7 separate regions of the Homo sapiens genome follow, and all the other regions are linked to region 3. The links are contacts of gene promoters, found by promoter capture Hi-C in blood cells and fetal thymus (Javierre and others, 2016). All regions are on one chromosome and are shown on one strand. Each heading gives the region's core, a stretch centred on a gene start or on the middle of the fragment in contact. The rest is flanking DNA. Distances are from core to core; before and after follow the strand shown. Region 1 overlaps RAB27B (RAB27B, member RAS oncogene family). Region 2 overlaps TCF4 (transcription factor 4). Region 3 holds the start of WDR7 (WD repeat domain 7). Region 4 overlaps TCF4 (transcription factor 4). Region 5 overlaps TCF4 (transcription factor 4). Region 6 holds the start of NEDD4L (NEDD4 like E3 ubiquitin protein ligase). Region 7 overlaps TCF4 (transcription factor 4).

What was found. The method cuts DNA at HindIII sites, captures the fragments that hold promoters and counts their contacts. A CHiCAGO score of 5 or more calls a contact.
Region 1: a fragment that was not itself captured here is called in contact with the fragment with the promoter of WDR7 in region 3 in 1 of 17 cell types (erythroblasts); the score reaches 5.6 in erythroblasts.
Region 2: a fragment that was not itself captured here is called in contact with the fragment with the promoter of WDR7 in region 3 in 1 of 17 cell types (total B cells); the score reaches 5.5 in total B cells.
Region 4: a fragment that was not itself captured here is called in contact with the fragment with the promoter of WDR7 in region 3 in 2 of 17 cell types (M0 macrophages and naive B cells); the score reaches 6.3 in M0 macrophages.
Region 5: a fragment that was not itself captured here is called in contact with the fragment with the promoter of WDR7 in region 3 in 3 of 17 cell types (naive B cells, total B cells and monocytes); the score reaches 7.1 in naive B cells.
Region 6: a contact is called between a fragment that was not itself captured here and the fragment with the promoter of WDR7 in region 3, in 2 of 17 cell types (total CD8 T cells and naive CD8 T cells). The highest score is 6.3, in total CD8 T cells.
Region 7: a contact is called between a fragment that was not itself captured here and the fragment with the promoter of WDR7 in region 3, in 1 of 17 cell types (monocytes). The highest score is 7.0, in monocytes.

The regions. Positions count from the first base shown.
Region 1 is chr18:54,832,428-54,836,369 of GRCh38, reverse strand. The region is part of intron 1 of RAB27B (RAB27B, member RAS oncogene family); the gene reads right to left. Among named protein-coding and RNA genes, the nearest start is that of RAB27B, 5.9 kb to the right of the region's middle. The HindIII fragment of the contact is 3,414 bases long and covers 1-3,250 here.
Region 2 is chr18:55,275,950-55,279,608 of GRCh38, reverse strand. It overlaps TCF4 (transcription factor 4), which reads left to right. Exons shown (of 20, transcript NM_001083962.2): 9 at 1-58. Among named protein-coding and RNA genes, the nearest start is that of LINC01929, 150 kb to the right of the region's middle. The HindIII fragment of the contact is 8,285 bases long and covers 1-3,659 here.
Region 3 is chr18:56,649,754-56,653,781 of GRCh38, reverse strand. It overlaps WDR7 (WD repeat domain 7), which reads right to left and starts at 2,423. Exons shown (of 28, transcript NM_015285.3): 1 at 2,206-2,423. RefSeq lists an enhancer at 2,303-2,692. The HindIII fragment of the contact is 1,105 bases long and covers 2,191-3,295 here.
Region 4 is chr18:55,259,102-55,262,851 of GRCh38, reverse strand. TCF4 (transcription factor 4) reads left to right here. Exons shown (of 20, transcript NM_001083962.2): 12 at 1,319-1,386; 13 at 2,825-2,903. Among named protein-coding and RNA genes, the nearest start is that of LINC01929, 140 kb to the right of the region's middle. The HindIII fragment of the contact is 1,458 bases long and covers 1,557-3,014 here.
Region 5 is chr18:55,294,357-55,298,064 of GRCh38, reverse strand. The region is part of intron 8 of TCF4 (transcription factor 4); the gene reads left to right. Among named protein-coding and RNA genes, the nearest start is that of TCF4-AS1, 160 kb to the left of the region's middle. The HindIII fragment of the contact is 1,301 bases long and covers 1,023-2,323 here.
Region 6 is chr18:58,040,908-58,044,955 of GRCh38, reverse strand. It overlaps NEDD4L (NEDD4 like E3 ubiquitin protein ligase), which reads right to left and starts at 730. Exons shown (of 31, transcript NM_001144967.3): 1 at 248-730. The coding sequence starts at 295. RefSeq lists silencers at 96-645, 666-1,035 and a cis regulatory region at 2,925-3,337. The HindIII fragment of the contact is 1,925 bases long and covers 1,435-3,359 here.
Region 7 is chr18:55,226,781-55,230,815 of GRCh38, reverse strand. It overlaps TCF4 (transcription factor 4), which reads left to right. Exons shown (of 20, transcript NM_001083962.2): 18 at 1,740-1,969; 19 at 2,455-2,595; 20 at 2,786-4,035. The coding sequence ends at 2,591. Among named protein-coding and RNA genes, the nearest start is that of LINC01929, 100 kb to the right of the region's middle. The HindIII fragment of the contact is 2,029 bases long and covers 1,438-3,466 here.

The DNA of each region.
Region 1 (3,942 bases), core at 294-2,793, 1.8 Mb after region 3:
CATAAGTCTACCTTAAAAGTCAAAGTGAACTTTGAAAGGGTGAAAACTGTAAGGAATCAGAACCATGGAAAATACACTTGATAAGAAGATCTGCTGGGAAGCAGAATAACAATATAATTTGAGGGAAATTCATCTTCAAAGCAACTCAGTTATTATCATTTAATCACTTTCCAAAGAAAACCGCAATGTAGAATTTTATGACTTCCTCAGAGCTTGCACAGGAAACAGATGCCCAGCAAGGTTTCTCCAAGTCTACAAAGGACACAAAGCCTGCAGGTTGGTGTACCTGCACCTAGTGATCAGTATGTTCTGTCTTTATCCATTTTTCATCTCCTCCTCACCTTTATCTAAATATAAGCTGCTCTGTAATCACAGATGCATAAATTCTCATCAAGTACGTACATTCCTGAGGGCACCCAAATTAAGCGTGTTCAGAAACAATACTAATGAGTACTTGCTGGGTGCATTTTACTTTTGTCTTCTTGGTTTTCCTAGTAGGTAAGTGAAAAAATAAAATACAGCAAAGGAGATCTGGGGAGATTGTATAGGCCAATTTCAAAATAAGTAGCATCTGATGATGGCCTAGTGACTTTACACGAGAAAAGCAAACCCAAAGTTGCTCATTTCATCTTATTACTATTACTGCTATGCAGGCTTCATCAACTAGCATCTTGCTTCCAACTGAAGATTAAAGAATAGACTTTTCAAACATGATGGCCTATTTATTTAAGTCTGTTTTATTACGTTTTAACCCTCGGTTATAAATATGAGAATATTTTCGTTACAGCAATTTTTTCCTGTAACGTATGTTTTGCAGTGTTGTTTCCTAGGTTCTTCCTAATAGAAGCGTTTACTTCCAAACCTTGAGAGGCAGTATTTGAGAATAGGTATTACAAACCTTAGGAAGATTAAGATCAAAGATTGAGTGAGAAAGGGATAGATATAGGGACTGGGAATTACAGTTTCCATACAGTTAGCTGTGATATCTATCTTTAGTTCGCTTAAAGAATTAATAAATTTGCAAACAGGTTGCATTGCTCCTATATTTTGCAGCATTTGGGAGAAAGTTCCAGAAAATTAGAGGCTTAAGTTACTCCAAGGAGGCACCTGAGTCAATATGTGGCACCTCTTAATATTAGAAAACGTGTCTACTTTTTCAAAGGCACTAAGACATGACTAGTTTCTCTTTCCCTCTGAAAAATCTAATTTCATTTTGTATTTTTAATATTTATATATGTACAGGAACACTTATCAACAGTCCATTTTGTTTATGAAAATAATATATTTTGAATAATAGACCATAAGAACTGAATAATTCATTTAATGAACTTCTCAGGCTCTGATTACCTTGCCTAAGTTAGATTGGGCAAATATAATACAAGCTGATTTTGCTTTTACTAATTATTATTGTTCTGGTATATCCCTCAGGTCAGATTTAATACATAATCTCATTTTTTTTTCTGAGCAAGTTAAGGAGAGAAACAAGAAGAAAACAGATTAAGTTGACCCCAAGTTCAATATGATTGAAAATAAATTTATGTGCTAGAACGAAGCCAGAAAGAGGACTAAAATAAAGTCTTATGCTTTTTCCCTAAACGTTTTAAAATGAAATTTTCCCTCTATTATAGAGTTCATATGTTTCTATCTCTTCTTCCATGTTTACATACATGCACACACACACACACACATATATATACACTTATGCACACAGATTTATGTATAACAAAGATAATCTTAGGTAGATCTAAGGTTATCTATCTATTTATCTATCTCTACCTATCATCTATCTAGAGGGATAGACACATAAATGGAAGGAAGAAAAGGAAAAAAGAAGGAAGGAAGTAAACATCAAACAAGAATTATGTGTTGCCCAAGTCTAGAGCTGAACAGTAGGGATGTTAAAATAATCAACCCTTACCTTTTATTTTACACAGGAGAAAATCAAGATCCTTAAGGAGACTGAATGCCCTGTCTATAGTTATACACCACTCAACACTAGCAATATTTGACTAATAATAGACTTCCTACTGGTTTGATTTAAATCCCACCAATATATGAAGTCTATATCTCCTTTCTATGAAACTGTTCCCAAAATTATGTGAGTGGGTCTTGGTATCCTTGAATACAGCTGTAGCTACCTAGAAACGTTTTTCCTGCTTTTCTGGATATTAAACATTTGCTTTATATGGCAGCTACTACTTAATTTGCTTTGATCTGTTTTATATTTTATAACTATACTTTCACTATCAATTCTTAATTTAAAAAATCTAGAACACATTATCAAATATTAAACAAATTGTGTTCTTGTATTTGTAGGATTATAGCTTTGGATGAGAGCTTGAGGGTTGTTTAGTTCAACCTCCCAGTAGAAGTCATCTCTATAACAGCTCTGACAAGTAAGTTTTAGGTTGCTGCACTTCCTGATCTTCATTGGTCTTGTCTAGTTTCTGCAATGACTCTTCCCCATTGGTGCCTCCAGACTCACTTTGTGCCTCTCTCTGCCACCTGCTTTCCATTCTCCAAACTCCTTTTCTCAGTTTCTTGAACGCTCCAAGCTCTTTCCCAGGTTAAGAATTCAGCAAATCCTTTTGCACTGTCTGGTTTGTTCTTTCTCAACCCCTTCACCTGACTAGCAACCAGGCAACCTTTAGGTCTCAACTGAAATGCCCTTTCCTCACAGAGGTCCTCTTGACAACTTCTGCCATTAGTCTTTCTCATTTAAAGAAGTTATTTGCAGTCACAATAACTTCTCAGCTTTCTTTGATTTTAATTTTCTTTTGGTGTTGTCTAGACCTTCCATTTTGAAGGCTATTTTCTTTCATGTAGAAAGAAGAGGGATTCATGGCCGGGTGCAGTTGTACACACCTGTAATCCCAGCACTTTGGGAGGCCAAGGCAGGCGGATCACCTGAGGTCAGGAGTTCAAGACCAGCCTAGCCAATATGGTGAAACCCTACCTCTACTAAAAATACAAAAATTAGCCTGGAGTGGTGGCACATGCCTGTAATCCCAGCTACTTGGGAGGCTGAGGTGGGAGAATCGCTTGAACCCCGGGGAGGGAGATTGCAATGAGCTGAGATCGTGCCATTGCACTCCAGCCTGGGCAACAGAAACTCCATCTCAAAAAAAAAAAAAAGAAAGAAAGAAAAAAAGAAAAGAAAGAAGAGGGAGATGACCCTTCTTTATTCACTGCTTTGTTTCAAACAATGTGAAAATAATCTTTTGCTCTCCTGAGCATTTTTTCCCAAGCTTCGGCTCACTGTGCATTACTCTTCTTCAAACTATGCTCACAGCTCAGACAACACCTTCGTTAAGTATTTCTAATTATATGTTTCCTTTATTCATCTGTTCTACAAGTCATTTTAAAAAATTGAATTTATTAGAGCTTCTATGTACGTAGCCTCATGAGTTTTTCTGGGGGCCTCTTTTCAATTCTCTTTAGAATTAGGTGAAATGCTATTTTCAGAATTTTTTATAGTTTTTCTGAATATCTTATATTGAGAACTCCATCTCTTTCCCGAGCTGCCAATGATTCCACACCGCCACATGCAATCATCACTTCTCTGTCCTCATCTCACTGTTTATCTTGGCCCTGTCTGACACCATTGACCACACCCTTCATCCTAAAAAAACATCCTGGCTTAGGTTCATGATGACACTCTCTTCCGGTTTGCCTTTCACTTGAATGGCTTTTTACTGACTCCTCCCATACAAGGTCCCAAATGTCCGAATAAGCCAGAGCTGCGTCCTCAAGCCCCAATTTTTTCTCTGTAATCTCTCTCTCAGTGATGTCCTCAAGGATATCACTCTAAATAGTATCCATAGCCACTTGCTTCTCAAATTTCTATATCCAGCTATGATGTCCTCTAGGTGCCCCAGATTCATATATGCAAAAGCCCAAGCTGATAATTCCACTTGGATGTTGAAAAACGCTTCAAAAGGC
Region 2 (3,659 bases), core at 1-2,500, 1.4 Mb after region 3:
GGCTATCCTTCCTCCAAACCAGCAACCAGCACTTTCCCTAGCTCCTTCTTCATGCAAGGTAAGATGCTGCTGCTTCTGAGGGAAAGGCCACTGGATAGCATTTTCCTGGGTCACTTAATGTCACAGATGGGGCAGAAGAAATGGAATAGTAGGCAAGTGTAGAATTTTTGAAGTCATGCTCTTCTTAGGAATTGAATTCCTTAAAAATTGATGTATTAATTAAAACTGTACTAAGTCTTTCTTTACAATTAAACCCCTTTAAGCAGTAATGGGTTAAGATTAGATTGATCTGCTTCACTTAGAGCCGATGCTTATGATGGTCTTCCACTCATGACCAACCATTTCAGCATCTTCACCATCCCCAAGACGATGTAGCTGTTTGTTTAGAAGTGGTTCAGCTCCATGTATGTTTTGAACATCCTGGATTTAGCCAACTGGGAACAAGTTGGCCTAATGTATAACCTTATGTAAAATTTTCACCCACTTACTAATTTGTAGGTAAGAACAAGGGTCCAAGATGAAGTAACCTACCACAGACTGGAATATTACATGGTGAAAGCTCTGTCCCAACATAGTAACTGGTTTAGGATAAAAGGCCCAACTTTTGGGGGAGAAGACAAATATAGGAAATTATGGAATTGTCCAGTATGTTTAAATACATGGATGTGTGCCCCCACCCTGAGCTTGTAGTCTTGCTACTGATAGCGTATACCTTTCTGCTGCTCAAAAAAGACCAAGATGTGGCCGAGTGCGGTGGCTCACGCCTGTAATCCCAACACTTGGGAGGCCAAGGCAGGCAAATCACAAGGTCAGGATATCAAGACCATCCTGGCCAATATGGTGAAACCCTGTCTGTACTAAAAATACAAAAAATTAGCCAGGCGTGGTGGTGGGCACCTGTAGTCCCAGCTACTCGGGAGGCTGAGGCAGAAGAATGGCATGAACCTGGGAGGCAGAGCTTACAGTGAGCTGAGATTGCACCACTGCACTCCAGCCTGGGCAACAGAGCGAGACTCCATCTCAAAATAAATAAATAAATAAATAAACAAACAAATAAATAAATGAATTTTTTAAAAAGACCAAGATGTTTGAAATGATAGCAGCTACTTCAAGAATGAACCACTTGGAGGATGCCCCTAAGGGCTCCATCCTGATATGTGTGTGGCACTTATTTTCTAATGTAATTATCTTGTTACCAAGTTAATGCCCTGAATTTAGATGTGGAATTTACCAAGAACCCCTGTGTGCAAAATGTTAACTCTTTTTGCCCAGGTGTGAAAACCTTATTTGTATAAGCCTTGTCTACGGGCCATGGGGTTTCCTTCTTTATGCATCTCTAGGAAGGGCCATGTCACAGGAAGGGGAGCACATTTGGGGCAAAGAGTACCAGGGAAGCAGCCTGATATAGTGGACACACTCAAAATCATTCTCATTAAAAGATACTAATCTTCCTTCCCTTCAGTGTGTTAGCTCTTTTAGTTTGTTAGTTCACGTGTGAAATTCCATGGAAATCTATAAAATTGGATGGAATGGCTCTGTTAGGAATAGAGAGAATTTGTTCCACGCATAATAGAGCCCGTGTGTCAGAAGTCCTTTAACTTTGTGACCCGTCCTAGGTGTAACTCAAAGGGACACAGCAGGCTATGTCACCTGGGTGCGTTTTGTGCCGTGACAAAAAGCTAATCACCTTCAGTTATAAACAGTAGCTACCTCAGCATCAGTCCCCTGTTTTGTGAGCAGTGGGAGATATTGTCCTACAGGAGCTTACAGAGATTGGCAACTCAAGGATCCATCACTCAAAACAGATTTCGATTGAAAACATTGACGGAAGGATATATTTTTTCTATCTGCCCAGGAAAGTGGCTTTCTGGAAGGGTGCACATTGCAGGAGAGGCCAGGTAGATTATATCAGTAGGCTCCTTTCCCTAGCAGACCACACAAAATATGGGGAACAAATTTGTTTATCTGCATATGCATACCCGAAAAGCAAAAAAAAAAAAAAAAAATTGAGTTGACATTTTTGATGAGCACAATTAATTTGCACACATCTAATTCTATTCTTTCTTTCAAAAGAACATTATGCCAAGATCATGGGATGTGATAAATATTAATTTACTGTGAAAAGCATAATTTATGTAAAATATGTATTTTTATAAGTCTGCATCAAGCAGAGTACTCTGTGTTAACAGTCCTAAACGCATTGCCACCCAGGGTATCACATTGTCAGGAGACTCTTGTTTAGTGATATATGTTTTCAATTTATTTGTCATATGTGCCATCTATTTAAAATGTTAGTGATCTTGAACTTCATATTTGAATTTAAGGTGACATTTAAACCTCTGTAATCTAAGGACTAAAGCTCAAGTACATGAATGATAACTTTAAAAAAAATCATGTGTTTTCACATGATGGCCACAGAAACAGTTGCATCATGGTCCTGTCCCACATCAGCTTCCTTTCAGTAGAGGGGTACTTGGTGCCCTGAGAATTCAAGACTTGAAGGAATATGCAATTAAGGTGAAAGATGTTCAGAAACTGTCTGGGGCATATTGTAAACTCACTACTGTGGCCTCTTATTTGTAACTTCAATTTCCATCTTCTAGTTAAAACTCTGAAGTTGTCAAAATCACAGACATGATTTTGCTTGCATGGTTCTTAAAGAGAGGAATCTGCAAACTATTCCTCCCAATATGAAATGAGTCCAGTTACAAAATTCTAACTTCCGGATTTAAGAACTCAATGAAAAAGAGCTTCACGAAATACAGTGTCAGATTTAACTTTTCTATTGCCTAACTTTTTAATAGGCCTTTACTATATAAAATGTTATGGTGAAAATAATCTTATTTTCAAGGAAGCAATATCTGCTATACATTTAACAGCCAGCTGATGGCCTAGTGTATACCTAGTACTCAATACTTTTTGTTAAACTATTGAAACAAAGAAAAAATGAATGAATTTAGCAGTAATGTAGATCATCTTTTCCCTTAGGCTTGGGAAACCAAACCTAAACATTAGCAATCATTAATAATAACCTGTAGGCCAATAGGCCCAGAGAATGAAAAAATCCGTAGGGATGTTTTTAATAAGAATGTTAACAAAAGGTTAACCTTATGTTGAAAGATACTTTATATAATTTTAAACCTCTATAATTCATAAATCGTTTTATAAAATCCAGAGACTCTCAAAAATATCTGTAATATAATAGCTACCTAGGGCATGTTTGTACCCTTTGGATTGCTACTGAAGGTTTAAGATAGCTATATACCTATACACCAAAAAATAAAAATAAAATATCCTAAGAACTATATATTTGAGATTCATCTTCTCTGCATGCCGTAATATAATTATAATTCCAACTTTAATTCTATTTATTGTATATGTTAAAAATGAAATTAAACATTTTCAATCTGAGATTTTTTAAAATTAATACTTCTTTACATGCTTTTAAAACTTGTCAACTTTGTAATTTCTCAAGTACTTTTCACCCCAAAGTTTAGGAACAATTTAACTTTTTAGTTGGTTTTCATAGAAAAAACAGTTAGAAGACTTCTAAGAAATGTTTCCTTTAGCAGTAATTACCTTGCGACTTGACATAATTCATGGTAGAAATATACTCTGTTGTTCTTTTACAGTTCAATTTTTACCAAGAACACTTTAAC
Region 3 (4,028 bases), core at 1,174-3,673:
GGAGAGCAGACAGATAAACTGTAGTAGATGTACATTCTGAAATATTGTGCAGCACTTGGAAGCAAAGAACAGCAATGCAATAGATCTTCAAAACATAATAGTGAGACAAAAAAACTGCACGATATCATCTCTATAAATTAAAAATGTGGGCACCCAGAACAATATACATTTAATAACACATACAAACAGAAGAATACACATCATACAGAATGGTTGCATATGGGTTGATGAGCAAGAGAAAACAGCGGGAATTAGAAACAAAAAACAATGAATGAGACTGGATGTGGTGGCTCACACCTGTAATCCCAGCACTTTGGGAGGCCAAGGCTGGTGGATCACCTGAGGTCAGGAGTTCGAGACCAGCCTGACCAACATGGTGAAACCCCATGTGTACTAAAAATACAAAAATTAGCCAGGCATGGTGGCACAGTCTGTAATCCCAAGCTAGTCAGGAGGCTGAGGCAGGAGAATCGCTTGAGCCCGGGATGGGGAGGTTGCAGTGAGCTGAGATCACGCCACTGCACTCCAGCCTGGGCAATAAGAGCGAAACTCCATCTAAAAAAAAAAAAGAAGAACGAAAAATGCAGGCAGGGGAGATGCCTTGAACAGCCCATTGAATTGAGTAAGATTAACTCCATCCTCTGCACCTGAGGTCCAAAATGAACTTTAAGGACTCATACATCTAATAAACATCACACCACTAAAGCTAAATGTCATCCTACCCCTCTCACGAAGAAAACACAAAACAAGCTCACTACTTTGAAGATTTTCGATGCTAAGTGTGTTACATGGAGAAACCACCCAACTTCCTTTAACTTCAAAACGGAACATATATCAAAGATAAAAGGAAACTGTAAGATACAAGGGTCACTACCCCTAAAATTTAAGTTAAATTCTTACAGGGATATTCAAACCAAGCCAAGCCCAGTCCCTTTGATTCACCCAGTCACCGAGATCTTTTAAAATTTAGTTACAGGTGGCAATAAGAAAAAATAAAGGGCATACTCTCATTTTTCTCTTAAAGTATTTCTCTGAAACACTCTTAAAATAAGGATTGGCAGTAAAATAAATGAATTTTCTACCATAATCCCTAATTGACATTAATAATAAAGCATTAATTATATTTATAGTGGTTCGTTTTCCCAATTTATAATAACTAATATGTATTGTTCTGGATGGAACTAGACAGTTTTTTATTCTTTGTAATAATGAGGGCATTTCAACACATTATGTTCACTTTTAAGCTGACCTTCATACAGCCACGAGTTTGTTTATAAAGCAAGAAGCAGAGTCAAACTAAAATTTTTGTTTTACAAAATGTCAAAAACTCAGTTAATTTCTTTCATACAACAGGCAATTCCTGCAACCTTGCCCATAAAATCCTAAGACATAAACACCTGAAAGAGTCAGTTTGCCTTTTTTTGTCTCATGGCAAATATTACAGTGAGAGGAAGCTATAGCTGCCACTGACCGAACCCTAAATTCAGCAGCATCAACAATATCAATGCAGCCTGTCATGCGACGGTAGGTTCCCTAGTTTCAGACTATCTAACCCAGCAAATTCTGCCTCAAAAAGTGACATACTAAGTGGGTAAAAAACATAAAACAGCAATTTTTGAATCAAAGTTAGGGTAGTGCTGACTTCAAACATAGCTTCAGAACGCTGGGACCCATCACTAAGTGAATGGGAGTGACTGGCATCCGCTCAGACAAGTACTAGGGCAAAGGGATAAGAACTGGCAGATGGCATCTCAAAAATGAAATTCTAACAGTGGTGTCAGTACCTTGGGCATGGGCAAAAATAGTACCAACAGGAAAGGAAAGACTATATGAACCCCAAAAGCAAGCACATCGCCCAAAATTGCTGTCAATAACCACCAACGATCATCACCAATCACCTGATCCCGTTTAGATTGCACCTGGGAACCAGGCAGTCCCACCTCAAGACCAAAGCAACTGTCACAAGTAGCAAATATCACTCACCAGGCAAGGGAGCCACAAAGACCCCCGGCTGGCCCCCACGCTCTTGGTAACGGCGCCTACTTTTGGGCCCGACCTGCAGGCTTGCAGCCGCAGCGATCTGACAGCTAGCACCGCCCCCGGCTAGAGCGGGTTTGTGACCTTTGACCCCTGACCCCTGACCTCCACGGTGCAGGAACATCCCGCCCTGTGGTTTCCCATGGAGAAGCTTGAAAGCCCCCTTACCTGTCACAGCTTCATCTCATGCCGCGATGTAGCCTATCAGACCGCCGGTGGGCGCCCCAGCCAAGGAGGACAAGGATAGGGCGGAACTACGGAGGATGCGGGGTGCGTAGATCCTGCTGGGATAATCCGTGGGGCGGCAAGCGCTATACAGCCGCCGTCTCCCCAGTGATACTGCAAGGTGCCGGTGCCGCCGCCGCCGCCACTGCAGTAAATCAGCTGACACCAGCCCCAACTGCCGTGACTTTCGCTGCAACTGTCGCAAAAATGAGGGGGCGGGAAAGACTCACCATTTCCCTACTTGCAAGGCCTAAGCCGGCGCCGAGAGAGCCAGCCGCGTTACGATGGAGACCGAAAGTGGAGAAAAGGCCAGCTGTGGGCAAGGAGTGCACGGCCGCCATCTTGGTTGTGGGAAGTCTCGTCTAGGCTGTCCTCTCTCCAGTTGGGAGGACCAAGATGGAGCGAAGGATGAAGTAGCAAGTGCACGTCTTTCTTGGGAGCAGGATGTTGCGCAAGTTTACACTTCTGACCCCATCACACTGCTTCCCACTGAGATGCAAGAGGTAGGGAATTCCCTAAACACTGGAAAGTATGTTGGATGCTGGAAAGCTAAAAAGAATGACAAATGTCCCCCAAGATAGATAAGCTATAGTATAGTGCAGGATGAGAAATGCCAAATAAGGAGCAAGGAAGAAAAGAGATGAATTATTTCTAGGTTGGGGTAAGGAAGGATAATCACATTAGGTCATATGGAAGTCTAGAAAAATTGGTCAGATTTGGAATAATAATTGGGAAAGGAAAACAACTTTGTCACCAGCATTGAAATGTAAAACATGAATATATGCAATAAATAGAAAGTTAAATTTGGAAGAAATACAAGGGACGTGAAGTAGGTGAAGTGGGAAAATGTGGTATCAGGGCTTAGCTGTTTCTGCTCCGTGAGCGGCTCCTTTAACAGGCAGTCTATGCCCTGGAGCTCTCTTGTGGGTTGATAGAGACTTCATCACATTCGGCCTAGACCAGGTAATAAAAAAGTAACATGGAAAAATAGAATAATGTAGATAACAAGAGGCTTTTAGTGGCCATATAAGCTTTTTGGTCTTTATTCCAAAGACAATGAAAAGTAATTGAAGACTTTTGACTAATAAATAGTGTAGCACTTTTCCTAACCACATGGTATTCAGGTTTTTAAAATTGCTTTACAACAAATTATCACAGTCTTAGTGTCTTAGTGGCTTAAAGCAACACATATGTATTGCCTCACATTCCATGGGCAAGGAGGTCAGGAACAGGTTAGCTGAGTCCTGTGCTCATGCTCTCACAAGGCTACAAGTGGATGTCAGCCAAACTGCAATTCTCATCTGGAGGCTCAACTAGGGAAGAATCTGATTCCAAACTCCTGTCAGCTCATTCAGTTCCTTGTGGCTGTCTGACTAGGGGCCCTGGCTTCTTACTGGCTCTGAACTGGAAGTGGCCATCAGGTCCTAGCAGCCACCCACAGTTCCTTACCACATGGGCCTTACTAAAGGCTCTCTCGCAACATGGCAGCATACTCCTTCAAAGCTAGCAAGGAGAATCTCTCTACTGAGCACAAGAAAGGAGTCACACAGATATAGATACAGCCATGGATATGGACATGGACATAGATATGGAAATGGATGTAGATGATAACCTAAATTAGGGAGTGACAGCCATCACCTTTGCCATATATTATTGGTTAAAGTAAGTCACGGGTTTTATCTGTACTCAAGGAGAAAGGATTATACAAGAGTGTGACTTATCGGGGTCACTTAAGATGGGCCAGCCACAAATATTAATTTGGCAGC
Region 4 (3,750 bases), core at 1,036-3,535, 1.4 Mb after region 3:
CTGGGCAACAGAACAAGACTCCATCTCAAAACAAAAAAGAAAACTCATCTGACAAACTCAACATATAAATATATGAAAATAACAAGCATAAATTAGCTATGCTAAGCAGAGGTCAGGAGAATTAAATTATGACCTGGAAAAGCCATAGAATTGGACCACTGAAGATCCGACCCCACTACTGCATTTTACAAGTGTGGAAGGTGATGACAACACATTTGTAAGAAAGAAGGCTCTCTTAGTTCAAGAATGGGGCTGGAAAGTCTTTGAAATTATATACCTGTTTAATGAAGTTTTGCTTGGATTCATTGGGTGATTTAACCTTTCCTTTTCTTATTTCACAAAATAGTGAAAAACAATCTTCCCTCAGAACTTTAATAGGTTTTATTTAGATACTATGTCTATTTGCTAATGTTGAGGCTTTAGTAAATACAACATACCCCAAGTGCTAGGCATTCTGTTAATACTGAAGACCACAAGAATCCTGGAAATCCCATTTTATCACTTAGTTCTAAAGGCAAGATACCTTCCAATGATACATGTTAAAGAAAGCTGGCTTTGAATTGTATACTGTAATATATGTCTTTTATTATTCACAATACTCTTTGTTCTTCTCTTTTGTAGATAAAAATACCAGTGTTTAAGGCAGTAGAGATAAGCTTCATGAATATGTAGACTTACTTTATCTCTGGAATTCGAGGCCATATTGACTTTTAGTAGCATACCAGTTCACTTTTTTTAGTGTGAACACAGACTTTTAAATATGTGGAGAATATATGTTATTTAAAACATTAAAAATATTTTCTCTCCTTGTTAGCCAGACCTGTTGTGGAAATTTTTGTTTGTTTGTTTGGTGTACTGTAGGACTGTGAGACGAATACCCCGTTTTGCTATGTATCAAATTTCTATTTATTTGAAAACAGATGGAAGTTATTTGTGAAGATAATTCCATTTACTATAAAATAATATAAAGAAAAGCCAGACTCTGAGGACTCCAGAGACCTGAAAGTAGTCTATACTTGTCAGCAATGACCGTCACATAGCTTGCTACATTCACCAGCTCATCAACAGCAAGGGGAAAGTCATAGCAAGGAAACCACTTTATCTTTAAACCAAGGTGTCAGGTTTATATTTTATCTGTAAAAAAGTAACATGAATATATTTGACATCTACCTCAGCAAACAAATTAATGCTAATTAAAGATTAATGTGTTGTAATTAGCATTAAAAATGCAATTAAATTGTGAGTAAATGGACCAGGAATAGAAAATTGTTAGACGTCTCACTGCCTGGTTTTCATATTCTGCCTTTTGTTTTTGCAGCAAATAGAGGAAGCGGGGCAGCCGGCAGCTCCCAGACTGGAGATGCTCTGGGGAAAGCACTTGCTTCGGTGAGGAAATATTGACTTTGGACTCCATATGTACCATTGTAAAGGGTGAACTTTAATCAGAAGTGGACATTTGGAATTTTAGAAAATGAATGGCAAATAGCTTTGATTTTTGGAAAATGCTAGCTTTCTTGCATAACAGTCACTGGAAAATTTGAGAAGGCTCTGAAGCTTCCAGTATATAGTCTCTTTCTCTCATCCTCAAAATGGTACTAAGCTGCACTCAATTATGGATGTGGGAATATTCTCCTGGTCTTTGGGTTTATAGGTTTTTTATACTGATGTCTTATTTTTCTCTAAAGTAATATGGGTGCACATTGACCAGCTAAGACTGTCTTAGCAAGGAATAGTTCTAAAACACTTTGAAAGAGGCATTTGAAAAAAAAAAAAAAAAAAAAAGACAATAACTGAGGTCCATGAAGAACTGTCACATAATTGGCACCTGGGGGACTCAGCTTCTCTGCTTTGCCCACCTACTGCCAGAAAGCTAAAATTGAACATTTCTTGCATGTTCCCTGATGACAAAATGGCATACCTTCATTGTCTCAGAGAGTATATCTGGTATTTTAGTCAAAAGCTAAACATGGTCATTTAGAAATGTAAGTGGAGGGCCAGGTAGTGTGGCTCACACTGGTAATCTCAGCACTTTGGGAGGCCGAGGTGGGAGGATCACTTGAGGTCAGGAGTTCAAGACTAGCCTGGCCAACACGGTGAAGCCCTGTCACTACTAAAAACATGAAAATTAACTAGGCATGGGTGGCACATGCCTGTAATCCCAGCTACTCCGGAGACTGAGGCAGGAGAATCGCTTGAACCTGGGAGGTAGAGGTTGCAGTGAGCTGAGATCATGCCACTGCACTCCAACTTGGGTGACAGAGCAAGACTCCATCAAATAAATAAATAAATGTAAGTGGAGATTTCTTTCTCTAAGATTTTGTCTCTTCAGTTGGCTTTTACCATTGAGAGCATTAAAAAAGTTCACACTGTATTAGCATTGTGCCCTAAGTAAAAGTTTTTGTTTCATCTGGGCCTTCTGATGCTATGCAATCAAACGCCTAGATCTGGCAAAAGAGTGGCAAAATATCTTAGGAATGATCCTGTTCAACCTCTCATTGTGTAGATGAGGAAAGGAAAGTTCAAAGTATCTGCTTGGCTTGCCCATAGCCACACAGCCAGTAGGAACGAAGAGTTGGTTTGAAGTCTGCTGACCCCAGCCTGGCTCTTTTCCCACCATCCCATACCACATCAGTAATTCTTGTTTTGAAAAATTAAAATAATTGTTAAGTTCTTCATTTGACAATTTTGGTACTGTAGTTGATTATTACATGTATGCTGTAACTTGTAAGTTCTAAATGAATTGCGTTGACAACTTCGTAGTTTAGAAAAGTGTGAATTATTTTAATGAATGAGGGTGTTTTTTTTTTCTCCTTATTGTTTTAAGATCTATTCTCCAGATCACACTAACAACAGCTTTTCATCAAACCCTTCAACTCCTGTTGGCTCTCCTCCATCTCTCTCAGGTAGTGTATTTCAAATCCCATTTCATCATATAACAGTTTATAAGAATGATTCCCCCCTTGTACTTCCTGATTTTGTAGGTGGAAACTCACTTCCCCCCAAATCCCAAAGCTTTAACATTCCTATAACAGACAAATACAAAGGGTGGGAGAGACAAATTACCAGATAACAGTATAGTCGTTTACATCCAAACCTTTTCTTAAAAATTAGATTATCTTTTTAAAATATACAGGCATATGGAAAATGTATTTCTTACACTTTTCTTAGCTCTGCAGAAGACACCCAACGGCAGAATAATGTATTCCAATAAAACGTCTCAGATGAAAAAAACTCAGTTAATATAGTCATGAATATGAATATAGACTAGATAGTCATCAAATATAGACTATTTAAATGGATCATTTCCTGCAGGAATTTCAGGCTTTCCAAATTCCCTCTTTAAAGTACATGCCATTGGGATGTTTAGAGAAAACTATAATTTTGTAAATAAATTGTGAAATAATTGTGTGGGGTAGAAGGGATGTTTGACTTCAAAGTATAATACATTCGTATGACCTGTGGCTTCAAATTGAATAACTATAATTTGTAGAATTATGTCAGTAAATAATTTCACTTTTCAGGGGTCCGTTTAAGAGACTCATTGTCTTTCCAATATAAATGCTTCCAGAAAGCCTTCCTTGGTTCATGTCTCTGCTCTTTGGTAAGGAGACAGGTGGCTTATTAAAAAAACAAAACAACAGCAACAAAACCTAAATCACATCTGTACCTGATGGAAACCTTACCTTACTGTAATTTATAGTGGAGTTACTTGCGTTTGTTATTTCCTGCATGCAGCTCTCATGGCCCAGT
Region 5 (3,708 bases), core at 424-2,923, 1.4 Mb after region 3:
GAGCCAATCTTTTTTATATACAGCACCTTTAAAAAAAAGACTGTCCACTACTATTAAAATCTGATTCAGTCTTCTAAAATATTACTACATTCAAGACAACTTTTAAAATGATCAAATTTAGATAGACATCAATGATGTTAAAAGATAAAAGCCCTCCTACATGTAATATATAGTGTCTTAAACCTTATTTTTTAAAAAAGGGATACCACTTTTGCCAAAAGTTTCAATGTAGGGATACTCAAACTGTCCTTGGAAGTCCTAAAAATTGCTAGTTTTTTTTTTGTTTGCTTCTTTTTTTGTTGTTTTTGTTTTTTGTTTGTAGTTATTCACAAATGGAGAAATATTTATAAAATTATATTATAATTTGTAATGCACGCAAACAACCATCAGACCACACTTGAATCAGAGAGTTACAGTTATAAATTGAGGAAAGAGGATGCCAGCACAATGCCTAATGGAGTGAAAAATTGTGCTTATTTTCACAGGACTCTCTTGGAGAGGAGCTAACTACTTTCCTCTCTCTTAATACCCAGACCCTCTCCCTCAGCCCTGACAGCACGTTACAGAATGCATTCACTTAGTGTGTGAAGAGCTAGCTCACCACCTCCCTTTAAGATCTATTCTTGTTATTCATACATTGCAAATTTGTACTTTTGTATCCACAAGGAAGACATTACTAACTTCAAGAAAGGCAGTGTCAATGAGGAGCAGGAAAATACAGTATGATACAAGCCTGCCAATGAAAGAATTATACTCAGACTCTATGCGCTCTGTTAAACAAAATTTGAACCTTTGAGGAAAAAATATTGGGGATTCTGATGAGTGTTTTTACTCTTTCTTTCCTTTTTTTTTTTTTTTCTATTTGGAAATCATGGCTTCCTGATCCTAAGGGATAAAAAAAAAAAAAAAAAAAAAAACCTCAAAGAAAAGACTCAACAGGCTTTCTGGACATCAAATAGTTCCTACAAAACAACATTCTGATGACTTGCATGTAAAGAAATCAGAAACATATGAATTAAGCTTCTCTCGAAATACATATGGGTTGAAAAATAGAGAGAAGTGCTGAGAAAATGTGTTTTGGGTTTTGCTGAGCCCATGACGTTTGAAAAATAGTATGAGACATTGAACAAACACAAAGCATGGCTTGGCTCACCCATTCCTAATATTAGCCTTCTAGTTCAACGGCAAATCAGTTTACCATGTGCCTAAATGTGAGCCACCTTGGTGCACTCCCCCACACTTAATTATATGCAGTTTAAATTTTTTCAATTAGGAGCTCAAAAATAACATTGCATTTCAAGGAAATGCAAATCTTAGCATTTTCTTACCTGGTTTGTTCACCTCAGACCATTTTAGAAAACACCACAGATTATTTCACCTTAGGAGCAGTCACACTGATGTGGCCCTCTTTGATGTGGCTGGCATATAACAGAAGAAACGTATCATTTTTAAGAAACTGGCTCCAAAGACAATATTGCTATTAAATTGAAGCCAAAAACCACTGCAGGTAAAACATGATGAAGATGAAGGACGCCCTCTCTTAGCCATATAGTAGAAGCCCGATCATAGACTCTCACCCTTACACCATGACTTGAGTTCCTGCTCATTTTTATCCCTGAGCTCTGCAGACTTCTAAGCAGTGGAAGTTTTCATTCTCTTTCCCACATTGCACTCAAGAGAGCTAACATGAGAGATTCTAAATCCTGGGATTCCTCTGCATCTGGCTTTAAGTACAGGAGCAGAACACAGGGAATTTAAGGAACAAAAATAGCCAGAGCTTCAGGCTTCTTCCACTGATGGTAAGTCATTGACATGCACTTGGATGAAATCCTGTATCTGTTCTTTGGACTAGCACTATCGCCTGAGATTATCAGTTTCAGAGAGTTACAGAGAGGCAGTAGATTTCATCTTTCCTATTTCAGGAGGAGTTATTTTGGTTGTTTAAAAAAAAAAAAAACACTTTAATGTACTTTTCCTAACTCCTTCACTCAGATGGTGGCAAGAAGTTTGACAGAATAAAGTAATTCAGCTAATATTTATCAAATGCCTACTATGAGTGAGCTGTTAGAATATAACCCTGAACAAGACAAGCATGAGATAGGCAAACAGACTATTAAAACCTAGACTGATAATGCATTGATTGGGGTGTACAGGCTCCTTAAGGTAGATATACAAAGGACAACTAGTCCACATTTGGCCTTAGAGGAAGTGAAGTGCAAGGATGAATGGGAATTAAGCTGGCAAAATGCAAGGGTTATAACTGGAAGCAGGGGTGAGCATGGCATATCCGGTGACCCAGAAGTAGTTCAGAATGCCAGAAGCTTATGGTACAAAAGGATAACATAAAAGATGAGACTGAAAAGGTAAACAGTGGCCTGATCAAAAAGCGACTTGTGAGCCCTATTAAGGAGTTGAGATTTTATCATGAATGTGACGAGGAGCCTTTCAAATGGGTATGCCTGAGAAGTAATTGAATTTAAAAGTCAAGACGGATAGGAGGACCTGGAAAACTTAGAGTCAGAGAAGCCAAGGGAGGCAGATCTGACCAGAAGGAGGAAATTGTCAACAGTGTCAGATGTTGCTGAAAGATAGAAGTGACATTTGGCTGCAGCATCCAGGAGGTCTTGAGCAGTTTCATTGAAGTAGTGAGTGTGGAAGGAAGGTAAAGAAGTGGAGAACAGGCATTGCAAGATAATTTTCCATCATCGTCATCATCATCGTCCTCATCACCGGAAAATGAGCATCAATTATCTTATCTACCAGACATAGAGAGTGACCAGGTAAGGAATGACACACCTGCAGCCTGGGAGATTTCAGAAAACAGATCATAAATATAAAACAGAAGACAGCAACACATGGTACAACACATGCAAAGGGCAAAATGAGCAGTGTAGGCCAACGGGATGAAGAACAGAAAGAATTAGGGGGCAGGTGAAATGGGAGAGTTTTTCAAGCAGTCAGTGCGCTTGAGGTTTGCATTCTGGATTGTGCCTCCTTATAAGTCAGTCCAACCTGTTTTTGATTCTCCATCCAGTGGAAATAGGAAACACCATCAAAGATGATGCATAGTCTTAACTTGCCTGTGACTTCTGATTATGTTTCCGAATTTTGGGAGGAAGATTAAAGTCATAAACTGACTCTTGGTTTGTTATAATTTCTTGCAACTGTTATTTTAAAAATCCGGACACAGGCCAAGGCAGGAGGATTCTCTGAGGCCAGGAGTTTGAGACCAGCCTGGGCAACATAGTGAGACCCTGTCCCTACAATAATAAAAGTAAAATAAAAAGAAAATCTGGATGCAGAAACTGAGGTGTAGATAAATATAGCAAGTCAGAGATATTCGTAAATTCTACATCGATGAGTTTCTTGAGAAATTCTGCACACCCAGTGCTGGACAACTGTGGAATTGCAGCGTGATACCTTTCACATCTGGGTCATCTCCATATGATATCTTCTTCCTGGTACAAGGCCAGAAGTTCACCCCACGCACAACACCTATGGAAGCCACTTACGATTCAAAGGACAGTTTTTCTGAAAAAGGGTGCATGATGTATACTTCCCTTCAACACTAAAATTCTGCTGCTTAAACTTTGTAAGTGAAGGAAAGGACTGGTTCTCTTCTACTTTGGCTGTCTTCCTTGTTTCCTATTTATTGGGTGCTTGCTTTGGGCAACCCATTGTATTGGATGTGCTCTAAACCACAATCTT
Region 6 (4,048 bases), core at 1,148-3,647, 1.4 Mb before region 3:
GGAGTGAACCCCCAGCTCCAAGGGCGTCGCGCCGCTTTATTTACAAACAATGAGCTCGGCTTGCGGAGGGTGGGGGGTGCGGAAGGACCCAAGCTCCCCTGGATCCCGCTCCGGGGCGCTCCCGCTTTGGGGCTCCCCTGCAGACGCTGGGCACGAGCACCCCGGGGACGGCCCCTTTCCCCTCCCCCTGCCGGCGCGGGATAGGAACTCCCCGGGGAGTCCCGAGCAGGAAGGGGGTGCCACTCACCTCGTCTTCGGAAAGTCCATAGACCGGCTCCCCGAGCCCGGTCGCCATGGAGCCGGCGCCCCGCGCGGGGTCTGAGGCGCTCCCAGCGGCTGTGCTGCGGCGCGGACGGCCGGTTCTCCCCTCTGCCTCCAGGTCCCCCCGGTCCCGCACCCTACCCTGCGCACGCCCTGCCGGGTAAGCGGCCGGGCGCCGGCAGGTGAGGGTGCCCGAGAGCGCGCCCTGGACGCTGCCGGCACCGCTTCCTCCCGGAAGGCTGCGGGACCAGCGGGCGGGCGGCTCCCGAGAGCGCGCCGAGCACCGGGCGGCAGCCCCGGCGCCTCTCACTGCGCGCGGCGGCGGCGCAGACCCGGCCGGGCTTTCCCTCCCCGCGACCCGCGCCTCCCTCCCGCCCCGCCGCTCTCCGCCCCCCTCCGAGCCTCCTCTGCGCTCCCGGGGACCCGGCTCGCCCGCCTCCTCGCTAGCGCCGTCCGGGCCCCCGCTCTCTCCGCCCCCTCCTCCGCCTCCTCCCACCGGCGCCGCGAGGGTACCCTCCCCGTTCGCCGGGGCGGGCACACGCGCCCCCCAAGCCAATCACAGGCCGGGCTGGCGAGCGGGCCGCGGGCTGCGGGGGTGGCGGAGTTCAGCCCCACGCCCACCCCGGCCCGGGGCCTCCAGCGCGGCGCGGCGGGGGTCACCCGGCCGCGGGGCGGATCCGCAGGGGCGTGTACTGGCGCGCTTGGCCGGCGCCGCCGACCCTCCCTCCTCTCCCGGTTTCCCTCCGCTTTAGGGAGGGGGCGGGCTGGACGTTTGGGGGCGATAGAGGATTTTGCGAACAATAACAAAAACGCCCTGAGCGTTTCTTCCTCCCGGTGGTCTTTTTACCGAGAGCCCTGAGCTCGCTGTTAACTGTGAAAAGGGGAAAAGATGGATGTTTCTAGACCCCTTTAAATTCTTTGCGGCCCCGACGAGCAGGACTTGGCTACATTGTCAGCTCCCGGGAGCGAGCCGCCCGGCCCGGCTGCCAGCCGAGGAGAGGCTGCCCCAGTGTGGCCGCAAGTCGCCATTGCCTGTGTCAACCTTGCAGGGAACAAAACCAACATAGCGCCCGCCCCGGTTACACACCCACCCACGCGAAAACAGACAGCATGGTTCTTTGAATAAAAAGCAGTTCATTTGTGAGCCGCAACGTGAAATATCAAACTCAAGCTTAAGGTTATCCTTTGCATATGCAAATGATCGAGACGTCTTATTAGCCACCGTAGGATTCTTCCCACCACCCAGCTACCGTTTCTCTAGCAAGCAGTTCATTTAATCCTTCCGATTTATAGGACTGCAAGAGACTACTTTAAATAAGTGAAAGAAATTCGTCAGTCGACTTTTTCGGAAGCCTTTCCTTAAATTTAGATGTTAAGTGCAGTTGGGAGTTCAAAAAGAAAACAGACGCAGAACATTCCATTTGCCTTTGAAAAGGAAACGTCAAAGTGCCTACTTGGGTATTACCAGGATGCATTTAGGATTTTCATTCAAGGAAGTTCAGAGAGAACTCGCGTGACCCGAAGGAATCATATTCCTCGTTGCCAGCTACATAACTAAATATCTGCTGTTCGCCCTGCTAGTTCGTTTTCAAAAGAGCCCACCCATGCTACCTTAAGCTCTCCTTTGCCTTCCTGCAGCATGACTGGCTTAAAACCTGTGCCGTAGAATGGGTTTCCTTTGACGACTTAGCCCCATGGAGTCAACATCCTACTCAGAAGCCTTCTCTAGAAGTCTTGAGCCGTCAAGTCCACAGTACTTACAGGCCACAAAACCCCCAATGAGAACTATTTATGGAGGACTATTTAAAAGTCAGATTTCTGTCCATTCTTTCAATACTGAGGTTTTTCAACCCTTTCAAACCTCGAGTCTTTAGACCGGGCACGGTGGCTCAAACCTGTAATCCCAGCACTTTGGGAGGCTGAGGCGGGCGGATCATAAGATCGGTAGTTCAAGACCAGCTGGCCAATGTGGTGAAACTCCATCTCTACTAAAAATACAAAAATTACCCAGGCGTGGTGGCGGGCGCCTGTAATCCCAGCTACTCGGGGAGGCTGAGGCATGAGGATCCCTTGAACCTGGGAGGCGGAGGTTGCAGTGAGCCGAGACTGCGCCACTGCACTCCAGCCTGGACCACAGAGCGAGACTCCGTCTCAAAAAAAACAAAAACAAAAAAAAACAACCCTAAAGTCTTTTGATAAACAAAAGGTACACGTGCACACTCTGTCTTTCTCTCTCTCTCTCTCACACACACACACACACACACACACGCATTCTCAGATGCCCTTGCCCTAGCCTGTGACCCTCATGGATGGGAGTCAGTGCTTCTCTACCTACCCTCACTAGCCAAACCTTTGTAAAATTTGTACAGTTTATATTATAAAGGAAGAAAAGTAATTGAATAATAATGCTAGCATTTTGGGAGGCAGAGGCAGGAGGATCATTTGAGGCCAGGAGTTCGAGACCAGCCTGGGCAATATAGAGAGACCCCTGTCCCTACAAAAAAAAAAAAAAATTAAAAATTTGCCAGGTGTGGTGGCATGGGCCCATAGTCCTAGCTACTCAGGAGGCTAAGACTAGAGGTTCACTTGAGCCCAGAAGTTCAAGGTTACAGTGAGCTATGATCGTGCCATTGCACTCCAGCCTGGATGACAGAGAAAGACCCTGTGTCTCTAAATAAATAAATACATAAATAAATAATTCTTAAAATGTGCTGATAGAAAATTATAATTTCTAATTACACAGGACACGCCTTCCACATCCTGGAGGTACACAATTCCAGGCTTCGCCTTTGGGTAAGGCTATGTTATCTGGAAACTGTAGAGGGGTGTGGCAGTTTCTCTTCCTGTCTTTTATCATCTACTCCCACACACCCACCGCAACAGCCTATAGCCCTGCACTCAGGGTCATGTCCTTGTCTTTCCCTGAGGGATGGTTATTAGGAACTATAATATGAAACTTGCCATATGTCACTTATTGTGGGGTGTTTATAAAATCGTGATCCATGACATCAACATCCTCTGTGAGAAGACTAATAAACTAGACATTTATTTCAGATCTATGAAGAAAAGCTCTTTTGCTTTCAAGAAACTGGTAAGCTTTTGCATGGCAGATGACCAAAATTATTAAAACCGACTGTGTTTTTCTATCTACTTTGGCCACCAGGAAGCTCAGAACCAGTTTCATGGTCTTAAGCCATAAAAGAACCCATTAAAAAAAATCCCTTTTGTAACTATATACCAACTTTCCCCCAGTGCTGTGGTTCTCTACTCAGCATGTACATTGCAATCACCTGGGGAGCTTTCAAATAGACTAAGTGCCCGGTAACCAGCATCAGAGGCTATGATTTAATGGATTCTGACATCAGTAGTTTCAACAGCCTCCCAGGTGATGCTAATGTGCATTTAAGGCTGAGAACATCAGCTTAGTTTCCAAATTTTGCTATACATAGAAACATTTGGGAATTTTTACTACTGCTCCTCTCTGCCTCCCACTCCCAGGCGTTATGATTTAATTAGTACAGGGTGCCACATGGGCATCAGGAGCTTTAAAAGTTCCCCAGGTGATCCTAATGCACCACTGCCAAGTTTAGAGACATCTGGCCTAGATTTATATTACTATTCTTTTTTTTTTTCTTTTTCTTTTCCTTTTCCCCGAGAGACAAGTTCTTGCTCTGTTGTCCAGACTGGAGAACAGTGGCATGATCACAGCACACTGTACCCTCAAACTCCAGGACTCAAGTGATCCTCCCACCTCAGCCTCCCAAGTAGCTGGGACTACAGGAGCACA
Region 7 (4,035 bases), core at 1,203-3,702, 1.4 Mb after region 3:
GCTTCTCAAGTGTAATTGGTCCTTATTGCCACTTGGAAGTTACCCAGAGATTCTCCAAAATGGAACATCAGAGTCATATATTTTAAACCAGCATTCATTAAATATACATTTAATTGAGTAGATAATTTCCCACATCTTCCAACTCCGAAATGTTGTGATTAATCATCTTTATTCTGTGAACATTTCCAATGTGTGAAATTACCCTTTAGGTTAATTGTTAGTCACTTCCATGGAGTTTCTTGTGATGGGGAGTCTACTGATGTTCAGTGAAGTTTGTTTCATTTTCTGTGTCTCTCATAAGCCCCCCAAAAGTCCTCACTCATGTTTATTCACAATAGTCATTCAGAGCTTTATAGCACGTGCTGCTCTGCCTTCTTGAGACAAGACGTCGTGCACACTTCTCTTTTTTACATGACAGCCCTTGGAATATTTGAACCCTGCTGCTGTGACGACTTCCTCATATGATATGCTTTCCAGGTGGCTCATCATCCTCTTTGCCTTCCATTCAAAAGTTTCTAATTTGTCACTGTAACACTCAGAAATGGACAGAACCGATCTTATCTTTTCAGACTATTCTGGGCCCGGCCATGCATTTGTTATGAATCATGGAATATTTTGGTTTTCACAATTAGAAATTACCTTTTGGCTTTTTTTTTTTTTTTTTTTTGTAAGAGACAGAGTCTGGCTGTGTTGCCCAGGCTGGAGTGCAGTGGCCTGATCACATCTCACTGTAGCCTCCACCTCCTAGATTCAAGTGAGCCTCCCACCTCAGCCTCCTGAGTAGCTGAGACCGCAGGTGTGCATCACTGTGCCCAGCTAATTTTTTTTTATTTTTTGTAGAGACGAGGTCTCACTATATCGTCCAGGCTGGGGTTATAGGCATGAGCCACTGCACCCAGCTTTCTGGCTTCATTTTTGACTCACAATGAGGTCATGGTCATTCATAAGCTGCAGGTGTTTGGTTTGTTGAATCGTTTTGCATGACTGATATCAGTTCAGGTTTCCCAAACTTGTTCTGTGGATCATAAACATCTATAAGATTAAAGACCATGGAAGTCATGTTTTTGTAACTTTTTGTTTAATACATAGAGAAAATGAGACTCACATAGTGGGTTGACCAGGCCTTCAAAGCAAGGTAATGGGGACACCTGAATAAAAGCCTCACTGTCTTCACTCCCATTGCTCTGGTGTCTTACATATAGGCCTTTCTTCTTACTCCTGTTAAGCTGCCTTGTATTTTTTTGACCTATCAAAATCATTTTTCAATTACTTGTTTCCCCTAGATTTCAGATGTCACGGTATGAAAGGTTTTATATATATTTAAAAAATAAAGTATAAACATAAAGTCTTTTTGAAGCGTGGTTATGCAACATATGCTAGGCGTAAGTTGGTGAATGCCTGCTTTGCAGAGTGTAACCCCATTGAATAAAAAAAGCTTTGTTTTCCCTTTCTGCCCCCCTGTATCAGTATGGGCACACCCTGCACTCTAACTTTAATCTACGTCACCCTCACCTGTTTGGTTTGGGTTTAATGTCTGCGAGAAAACCAAATATCTTGTGTATTGTGAACTGTCAAAGCCATCTAAACCAATCCCAAGGTCAAGTGGATATAAAAATTCTGCCAAAAACATGGCATAAGATGGAAAAGTTCCCTGAAAACTCTGGAAGAAAACAAAGTAATGTAGACACCTTCTTTTTCCCCACACCATTAGAAAATGTTGCATCCCTTTTGTCCCACAGCAATAATGACGATGAGGACCTGACACCAGAGCAGAAGGCAGAGCGTGAGAAGGAGCGGAGGATGGCCAACAATGCCCGAGAGCGTCTGCGGGTCCGTGACATCAACGAGGCTTTCAAAGAGCTCGGCCGCATGGTGCAGCTCCACCTCAAGAGTGACAAGCCCCAGACCAAGCTCCTGATCCTCCACCAGGCGGTGGCCGTCATCCTCAGTCTGGAGCAGCAAGTCCGAGGTCAGTGCAGGCCAGCCTCCTTGCAGAGCTCGTGAGGAGCTTGTGGCAGGCACAAGCTGAGATGGGCACGCCAGTCTTGAGCAGTGGCAGACAGTAGACTTTCAAGCATCATTCCAAAGAATTGTTTCCATTGCAGACTGTGTCTAAATCCATAAGGCAGCATCCCTTTCTCCTGTAATTAAGTTGTGGGATTCTCTTATAACTAAGATTATATTGCAACTTTCCCTATATCCTTTCAGTAATTTGAGCTTAGTTTATTTGCTTTACCAACCTTTGCTTACTGTAAAGTGGCTGTACACACTCACATGCAGTTCACCTTTTACTAGTGACTGACCAAATGGATTGCCACAGTACTTAGTAACTGTTCCTTTTGTTCTGTAATATAAACACTGAGAAAAAGGTCAGACACGCAAGAAGAGTGCATTGCTGCCCTCTGCCAGAAGCCTCAGCATTAAACAAAGGTTCTGTGCTTTAATCCTCCACAGAAAGGAATCTGAATCCGAAAGCTGCGTGTCTGAAAAGAAGGGAGGAAGAGAAGGTGTCCTCAGAGCCTCCCCCTCTCTCCTTGGCCGGCCCACACCCTGGAATGGGAGACGCATCGAATCACATGGGACAGATGTAAAAGGGCAAGTTTGTTTTCAGCCATTTCTGAGATCGATCATTCAAAACTCTCATCAGTGTATCAGCCATAAAAGTGAATTTCACCCAAATTGACAGATATTTTCTTTCATGGAAAAAGAATTTTTTTTAAAAAAAGCATACTTTTTCTGTTACAAATATATTAATGAATTTTTTCTCTCTTTTTTCCTTTCTCAGGTCCAAGTTGCCACATTGCTTCATTAAAACAAGAGACCACTTCCTTAACAGCTGTATTATCTTAAACCCACATAAACACTTCTCCTTAACCCCCATTTTTGTAATATAAGACAAGTCTGAGTAGTTATGAATCGCAGACGCAAGAGGTTTCAGCATTCCCAATTATCAAAAAACAGAAAAACAAAAAAAAGAAAGAAAAAAGTGCAACTTGAGGGACGACTTTCTTTAACATATCATTCAGAATGTGCAAAGCAGTATGTACAGGCTGAGACACAGCCCAGAGACTGAACGGCAATCTTTCCACACTGTGGAACAATGCATTTGTGCCTAAACTTCTTTTGGAAAAAAAAAATATAATTAATTTGTAAGTCTGAAAAAAAAATATTTAATTTAAAAAAAATTGTAAACTTGCAATAATGAAAAAGTGTACTTCTGAAGAAAACTACATGAACGTTTTTGTTGGTATTCAAGTCAGCTAGTGTTTATAATTACTGGATATTGAATTAGGGGAAGCTCGGCTGCCCTAGTAACAAAACCAGCAAACGTCCTGATGACAACGAAGTGATGACATTAGCCATTCCTTAGGGTAGGAGGAACAGATGGATCTTATAGACCTATGACAAATATATATATAAATATATATATAAATATATATTAAAAATTTAGTGACTATGGTAAGCTTTTGTTCATTTGTTTCAGACTTTTTTCTCCTGTAAAAAAATAGTACTGATTAACTTTTTTAAAAGAAAGATTTTACTGTAAATATGGATTTTTTTTTTTTTGGTCTTATTTCTGTCCCTTTCCCTGGTTTGTTATCGTAACCTGTAGTGCCAACTCTGCTTCCAGAGGGGTAGTGCAGGATGAAATGCTGACCCTGATGTTGCTTCTCATTCATAAATAAGTAGAAAGTTGTTTCTCCAGTCTTTTGGGAACACAGGACTTAAAAGTCACATCATGTGTAGATATTACAAGCAGCATTACCAAGACATGGCAAAAAGAGTTTGTCTGAATTGTAATGTTGCGTTTGTGAACCTATTCTGGGATTTTCAGAGGTACAAGGTTAGAATGCTACAATGTTACCACTGTGCCTTCCAATGTTTATATCATCGGAAACATAACATAATCAAAGTGGCTGTGATTTAACAAAATGATTAAAGTGTTACCTACCTGTGTAGCCGAAGTAGTGTGCAGTGAGGCGTTTCTGAATACATGGTCAGATTTTTGGAAAAAAACAAAAACAAAAAAAACAA